Linked DNA regions of Homo sapiens: region 1 is linked to region 2. The links are contacts of gene promoters, found by promoter capture Hi-C in human tissues and cell types (Jung and others, 2019). All regions are on one chromosome and are shown on one strand. Each heading gives the region's core, a stretch centred on a gene start or on the middle of the fragment in contact. The rest is flanking DNA. Distances are from core to core; before and after follow the strand shown.

Region 1 (3,755 bases), core at 703-3,202, 47 kb after region 2:
AGTCAATTAACCTTTTTCTTTTATAAATTACCCAGTCTCGGGTATGTCTTTATTAGCAGTGTGAGAATGAACTAATACACTTCCCAATGCCCTCGAGTTGAAATTCATTGACTCTGGTGACCCAGAACGTCTGTCTCCCTGGACTCCAGACTCTCGCCTCCAGCTGCCCCAGAGACTGCTGCATGGATGTCTCACAGGACCTCCAACTCCACAAGTCCAAACTGTGCCAGGACCTCCCACTCAAACCTGCTCTTTTCACCCACCTCCCAGCTGGGGACTCAGCCACTTCACCCTCCTGCTCCCAGGCCAGAAGCCCCATCTAGCAGCAGGCCCTGTCCCCTTACCCTGCAGGATGGAGGCAGAATCTGACCACCCCTGGTCCCAGCCACCATCGGAGTCTACCTGCGCCCCTTCCCGCTCAGTGCAGCTGCCTTTGTGCTTTTGTACTCTGGGACCCTCTTGCTCAGAGCAAAAGCCAGTGTTCTTACAAGGCCTCCAGGACCCCACAGATCTGTGAGCCGGAGCCCAATCTCAAGCAGCCCTGCTTTGGAGAGAGACATGTGTGCAAGAGCCCTGGGGTCCCTGGTGGAGGAGGGCAGCCACCTCGGACCTCCGACCCAGCCCGGCCTCCTGAGGATGGAAGTCTCAGAGGGAGACCAGCGGGCAGGTAGAGCGGTCGCAAGCTGACCTTGCTGAGTCCCCAGTTCCTGCACACAGAGTTGTGAGCAATACTAGGGTTTTGTGTGAAGCCACTAAGCTTGGGAAGCCGGCAGCACCTGATGTATTGCACACTTAGCTGCTTAGTTATTTTTCAGTCCCCACCCTGTCCTCTAGAATTACAGCTCCTCAAGGGCAGGGACTTGACTTCGCTCCCTGATGAGTCCCCAGCACCTAGACTGGTGTTTGACCAGTGACTGAGGCACTTGGTAGATATTTAGCTTATTTGAGTATTAACTGAAGAAATGGCAATGGGGCATGTTGCCAGGCACTTGGCTGCTGGCAGACCTCAGGAAATGTTGCCATCAGGTCTCTCGGGGGTGCTGACAACAAGGCCCAGCCCCGCCAATGCCAGGGGAGGAGGCAGCCACCCTCCCTCCCAGGCCTGGGCTGGCCGGCAGAACCCATGCCTAGCTCCGATGGCAGAGGCATCAGCTGCCTCTCATCTGTCTCCTCAGTTCACCTTCTGCTTCTCTGACTCTCTAATAGTCCCTTAATTGACCATTTGGCCCCTAAATTAGGGGCGATTAGGATCAACCCCCAAGCATCATTTCAGAAGGCAGCCAGGGGCCTGAAGCCCCTCTTTGGGGTCCTGGGGGTCCCTCGACTTGGTCAAATAAAGGTCAGCCCTCTGGCTTGGCATGGGTACCTTGGTAACCTCTGACCCTCAGCTCTTAAACCTGACCCCTGGTGATTCAGACCCGAGGTACTCACTGCAAATGGCCAACTAGGAAACACCCGAGGATGCAGTATGGAGACAGCTCCTCATGTGCCCGCAACCTGCAGAGCATCCCCCTGCAGCCAGCGTTCTGCTGGTCACTCTTTCTTTATGCACATAAGCTCCCAAGGTACAGAAAGGCATGCAGATACCACAGCCAGCACAGGAGGACCTCAAAACCCCATCTCATGGATTTGAGGCTCATCTTGCAGCAGTCGCTATTGTTGCCGTTCCAACCTCCTACCTGCTGCCTGGACCTAGGCAACTCTGCAAACATCTGCAAGCCTCAGTCTCCTCTTCTGCAAAACACGGACAGTCATAGCACCTGCAGTTTTGTAGTGTTGTTCTGAGGGTCATATGGCACAAGGGGCATGTCATTCTTTCTACACATGAGAAAGAGTGAATCCAAGCTCCTGGGCTCTAGAGCCATTGTCTCTCCCAGTTCCCAAGCCGGCCCCACCAATCAGGCTGGAGAAACCTCGGTGAGCTTAACTGGCCCAGGGAACGTCCAGGGTCCCACTGTTCTGGCAGTCTTTCTCCTGGGCTTGTGTGCAAGACAGTGCGCATAAGTGTGTGCACACGTGGGGGCATTTCTCTGGGCAGCCCGCATCCATATGCACACACACACACACACACACACACACACATGCCCAGGCAGGCCAGCCTGGTACAGCTGTGCAGGTTACACCCTGTGCCAGGGCCCCTCCTGGATGATGCCCATCTTCCCACAGCCTGCCAAGCTGCATGTCCAGAGCAAGGGGCATCTTTTTCTCTGTTGCAGATACTGCAAGTGCAGAGCACCTGCCAGCCTTCCCCTCCTGGTGATGCCCATCTCTCTCAAAGTCTTGACTCTGGCTTCCTCGACTCCCAGTCCCACACCTCACACTTGTGTTTCCAGCTGTAGGATGCTCCCTGGCTCCTGTTCCATGACTTCTCCCTCTCATCAGCTGCCCTCAGTTCAGGGCCCTCAGCCCTAGGGTGTGCCACCCCCATCATGGCTCTGACCGCCCAGTACCTGCCCTGCTTATCTGCGGTGCCCTCCATGGGCAGGCAGGGCCAGTGCAGTGCAGCAGTTGGACAGGTGAAACTCTTGCCCTGGTCTCCACGTCCCTGGGCCTGGCCTGGACAGACAGGCTGGGCCACCCCCTGGGAGCAGGAGGGGCATGTGTTCTGCATCCAGGCTGGCTCTGTCCAGGAGATGCCTCCGAGCCAGGCCCACCACTAGCACCCATCCGGCGCCTTGGAGAGCAGCCCGTCAATCAATGGAGGATGCAGTTGTGTGGTCTTTGAGCTGGCCCAGGACAAACGCCTGACGCAAGGCTAAATGGGGACCATCATAGCACCTGCAATTTTGTCGTGTTGTTCTGAGAGTCATATGGCACGATGGGCATATCATTCTGCCCATATCATTCCACCTCTGAAACATTTCTGTGAGGCAGGGAGAGCCACACGCCCTGTCCCCGGGAGCTCCTGGGCAGCACCCCCTCAGAAGCCAAAAATCCCAGAGAAGATGGATGCCCGCAGTGGGGCAGCAGGATGGCACGAGCTGGAGGCCTTGGGTCCCAGCTCTGCTTGGCCTCGGAGAGTCAGGCTTGCTCTCTGGGCCTCAGTTTTCCCTCAGAAACACAGGGTTCCTTCCCCCTCTGATGGTGGATGTGGCCGGGACATTGCAGACAGTAAGTAGGTGCACCCCAAGCATGAAATGGAGGCCTCAGCTCCCCACGGGAAGGGGATGGGGATGGATATGTCTGTATATTCCAGGTAGTGAGTGCAGGTGTTAGCCAGTGCTTATCGGGTTACCTCGGAATCTAAACCGTTCCCAGGGCCCACGCCCAGCGCCAGCGCTCCCCATAGGTTTATTCACACCTGGAAGCTGCAGGCGCTTGATGTGGTCCCTCTGATGTGCGTGCGCTCTGAAACCTAAACCCCCTTTGCTGCAGGCCTACGGAGACTCCGCAGGTGCCCAGGGAGAGGCCCCGGCAGGGGAGGCACCCTGTCCACCCTGACTCACAATGTCCTGGGGTGCCTGCTGTCCGGCCCGTTCCACTGGGGTCTTGTCTGCGTCCACTTTTCCTCCAGGTTCCTCTCCCTCTCCTGGGGCCCGAGGGCCATCACCCCGTGGAATGCCGCACCTTGGGAAAGGAGCAGCCTCCAATGACCTGGCTTGTGCTTTTCCCGAGCCTCCCAGCTGCCTCCCACCTCTGAGCAATTTATGGGGTCACGAACCACCTCAAGGGTGCAATTCCTTGTCCTGGTGCCAATTGGCCTCCAAAGTGCTTTACAACCTGCTTGTAGCACCGAGAAAGGGAACCAGCCCCCT
Region 2 (3,731 bases), core at 991-3,490:
AGGCAAACCTGAATGGGATAAGTCATTGGCAGGAAGATCTGGGGCCGGGGGTCATCCAGTGGGAAGGGGAGAGATGACGCGGTCAGCATGGCGGGAACACAGGAGCAGAAAGGAAGCAGGTGGGAAGCCAGGTCAAGGGCCAGGGGCACGGAAAGGGGTCAGATGCAGATAAGTGAGTGCTTCCTGGTGCATCCTTCATCCGCAATTCTTCCTTACCTGTGCTTTTGTTGCCTCCATTGCACAGCTGAGGAGGCCAGGGCCTGCGGAGGTTGAGAGTGTGCTCAGGGAGCACCCGGAGCAAAGTGGAAGCCAGATTCCAGATCAGTTCTGCTGGGAATTCCCAGCTCCCAAAAGCCCTGCTGGCTGTCAGTCCCCAGTCACCACAAGCACCTATCCTGTGTGGGTGGGCCTGCAGTTCTGGGAGATATATCAGCTGCCTGCAGCGTCCTTTGCTGAACTCACAGCAAATAGGAGAGACAGGGAGGGGTCCTTGGGAAGCCCTAAATTGAGCTTGCTGTGGGAGTCCTGGGAAGAAAGGAGCCTCATCCTATCAAAAGCCGGGGGAAGACATCAGAGTCCCTCTGCTCAGGTCAGCTGGCACAGGTGGGTCTCCAGGCCTGGGTCTCACTTCCCCAGAGGGTGTGTTCGGTTGGCCCCAGGCTGAGGGAGGAAAGCCCACCTCCCATGTCATTTTGCAAATGGGGAGTCAGGGACCTAGAGATGGAAAGACAACACAGCAAGTGAGGGATGGGTTCTAGGTCCCCTGCACCCTGCACCCTGCACCCTGGCCAACGATGTCTATTTGGCACCAGATCTGCAGGCTCATCTGGGGGACCCCAGGACCCAGAGGCAGCCGGGTTGCATCTCGAAGCTGTGAGCTGCAGCCCAGGAAGGTCCAGGTCTGGGTGGCGCTGCCCAAGCAGGCTGCAGGCCCAAGGAGGAACAAAGATCCTCTCAAGGGGTGCGGAGCTGAGGTTCCGGTCCTGCCAAAGCCACTTGATGACCCCCAAGTGCCCCCCTTTCTGCACCTCAGAGAAGAGCCCTCAAGCCTCCCAGGTCCCCTCCAGGGGCACGAATAAGCCCCAGCAGGGTTCTGAAGGGGTCCCAGGAATCTCCCTGTGGGGATGCGGTGGAGGTGGAGGAGGCTGCGGTGGCCTGGGGACATCTCTGGTCACAGGTGCTGGTGGTATGAGAGATGGGGTAGGCACCAAGCCCCCTGCAGCTGTGGCTAGGCGGGCCTGCAGGAAGGGCCAGGCAGGCTCCTCAGGGACCACAAAGAACAGGGGTTTTCACACCTAGGTGGGCCTGCATCTAGCTAGGACAGTCCCCATCAGGCCATAATGGGCACAGTGGGAGGTAGAACCATGAGTGAGAGAGGGGAGGCTTCCAGAGGCCTGGCCTGGGTCCCTGCTAGATTGAGGGCTCTGGCTATGGTACATGGATATTTCTGCTGTGGAATCAAAGGAGCAGGGGATGCTGAATATCCCCTCTGGCCCTATGCCCTGCTACCTGTCCTTTCACGGAAGGGTGTGTGTGTAGGGGGTGCAGGACCAGGCCTCCCTGGGTGCATCTCTGCCACCTTGCCCTTTGGCTCAGGTGGACCTCCACCAGGTATTCAGAACTCCAGCCCAGAAACGCGCCAAGCCTGTGGGGCCAAGACCTAGGGGGTGGGGGTGGCCTCCCTCCCGCCTGTAGCCAAAGGGTCCTCCCTTGCCCAGCCAGGCCCCGGTGTCGCTTACTGCTCTTATCCACCCCTCCTTCCCAGGCCGGTCCTCAAGGCCCCAGCAAAGGAACCAAGTTCCCGTGAGCCTCCGAAAGGCGAAGGGCAGGCAGCAGCCGCTGGCTTCTGCGCCCACTAGGAGCTTCGGATGCCCGAGTTAGGGCTGCGCCAAGGCGGCCGGAGCAGAGAGGGAGACGGGGACGGGGACAGGCAGGGACAAAGTGCAAGAGGCAAAACTGGCTGAAAAGCAGAAGTGTAGGAGCCGCCAAGGGGCGGGACGAACAGGTCCGTGGGCCGGGCGGAGCCAAGGGTGGGGGCCGGGGTCCCTCCAGGTGGCACTCGCGGCGCTAGTCCCCAGCCTCCTCCCTTCCCCCGGCCCTGATTGGCAGGCGGCCTGCGACCAGCCGCGAACGCCACAGCGCCCCGGGCGCCCAGGAGAACGCGAACGGCCCCCCGCGGGAGCGGGCGAGTAGGAGGGGGCGCCGGGCTATATATATAGCGGCTCGGCCTCGGGCGGGCCTGGCGCTCAGGGAGGCGCGCACTGCTCCTCAGAGTCCCAGCTCCAGCCGCGCGCTTTCCGCCCGGCTCGCCGCTCCATGCAGCCGGGGTAGAGCCCGGCGCCCGGGGGCCCCGTCGCTTGCCTCCCGCACCTCCTCGGTTGCGCACTCCTGCCCGAGGTCGGCCGTGCGCTCCCGCGGGACGCCACAGGCGCAGCTCTGCCCCCCAGCTTCCCGGGCGCACTGACCGCCTGACCGACGCACGGCCCTCGGGCCGGGATGTCGGGGCCCGGGACGGCCGCGGTAGCGCTGCTCCCGGCGGTCCTGCTGGCCTTGCTGGCGCCCTGGGCGGGCCGAGGGGGCGCCGCCGCACCCACTGCACCCAACGGCACGCTGGAGGCCGAGCTGGAGCGCCGCTGGGAGAGCCTGGTGGCGCTCTCGTTGGCGCGCCTGCCGGTGGCAGCGCAGCCCAAGGAGGCGGCCGTCCAGAGCGGCGCCGGCGACTACCTGCTGGGCATCAAGCGGCTGCGGCGGCTCTACTGCAACGTGGGCATCGGCTTCCACCTCCAGGCGCTCCCCGACGGCCGCATCGGCGGCGCGCACGCGGACACCCGCGACAGTGAGTGGCGCGGCCAGGCGCGAAGGGGCGGGGGCGGGGGGCAACGGCCGCCGGGCCAACCCGCTCAGTCACACTCTGAGACCCTCGGCGGGCACCTGCTCGGGGGCCCCGGGAACCGGGGCGGACTCGGGCTCCGGTCCCTTCTGACGCGGGGCTGGGGACGCAGACACTCTTGGCTCCGGCAGCCCAGCGCAACCCCTGAGGTCGGGCGCCGCCTCCCGCCTTCAGAAACTCGGGCTCCGAGCGCCGAATTCCAGCGCCTTCGCCCGTGGGCACAGGGCGCGCGGTGCAGCCACAGGGGGCCCGAGACACGCGCCCCGGCCTGGCCCAGGCTGGGGAACCGCTGGGGTCGGGCTCGCGTCTGAAGGTCCGGGACTGGGTGCGGCCGCCGGGGGTCCCCTACACAGGCAAGCTAATCTGAGCTAGCGCAGGCTTGGGCTCCGGAGGCCCTAGAGGGCAGCTTGGGCTCTGGAGGCCCTTGGGGGCGGCTGCGCCGGGAACCCTGGCCCTTTATCCCCAACCCCACCCCAGAAATAGGGTCCCCGGAGGCGAACAAGCCGAGGGGCGGAGTGGGCCAGGGATCACCTGCCCCGCAATGACCTGCGCCCCGCCCCCAGGCCTGCTGGAGCTCTCGCCCGTGGAGCGGGGCGTGGTGAGCATCTTCGGCGTGGCCAGCCGGTTCTTCGTGGCCATGAGCAGCAAGGGCAAGCTCTATGGCTCGGTGAGTACCGCAGGGGTCTGGCTAGGCACCTAGTTGGGAACAGCGGACATGGCTAGCAGGCTCGTGGCTTCTCCAGCCCCACCTGTGCCTGGGTCTTGGAGGGGTGGCAGGGTCACCAGGTCACGGGACCGGCAGGCCTCCCCAGACAAAGGAAGCAGCCCCAAGGCAGGAACA

The links. Contacts are between HindIII fragments. The study calls those that stand out against the background at their distance.
Region 1: a fragment that was not itself captured here is called in contact with the fragment with the promoter of FGF4 in region 2 in 1 of the 25 tissues and cell types used here (neural progenitor cells).

The regions. Positions count from the first base shown.
Region 1 is chr11:69,726,306-69,730,060 of GRCh38, reverse strand. No RefSeq gene overlaps it. Among named protein-coding and RNA genes, the nearest start is that of FGF19, 24 kb to the right of the region's middle. The HindIII fragment of the contact is 8,947 bases long and covers 1-3,755 here.
Region 2 is chr11:69,773,850-69,777,580 of GRCh38, reverse strand. FGF4 (fibroblast growth factor 4) reads left to right here and starts at 2,240. Exons shown (of 3, transcript NM_002007.4): 1 at 2,240-2,836; 2 at 3,454-3,557. The coding sequence starts at 2,497. RefSeq lists enhancers at 568-1,491, 3,341-3,731 and promoters at 1,956-2,351, 1,239-2,351. The HindIII fragment of the contact is 23,973 bases long and covers 1-3,731 here.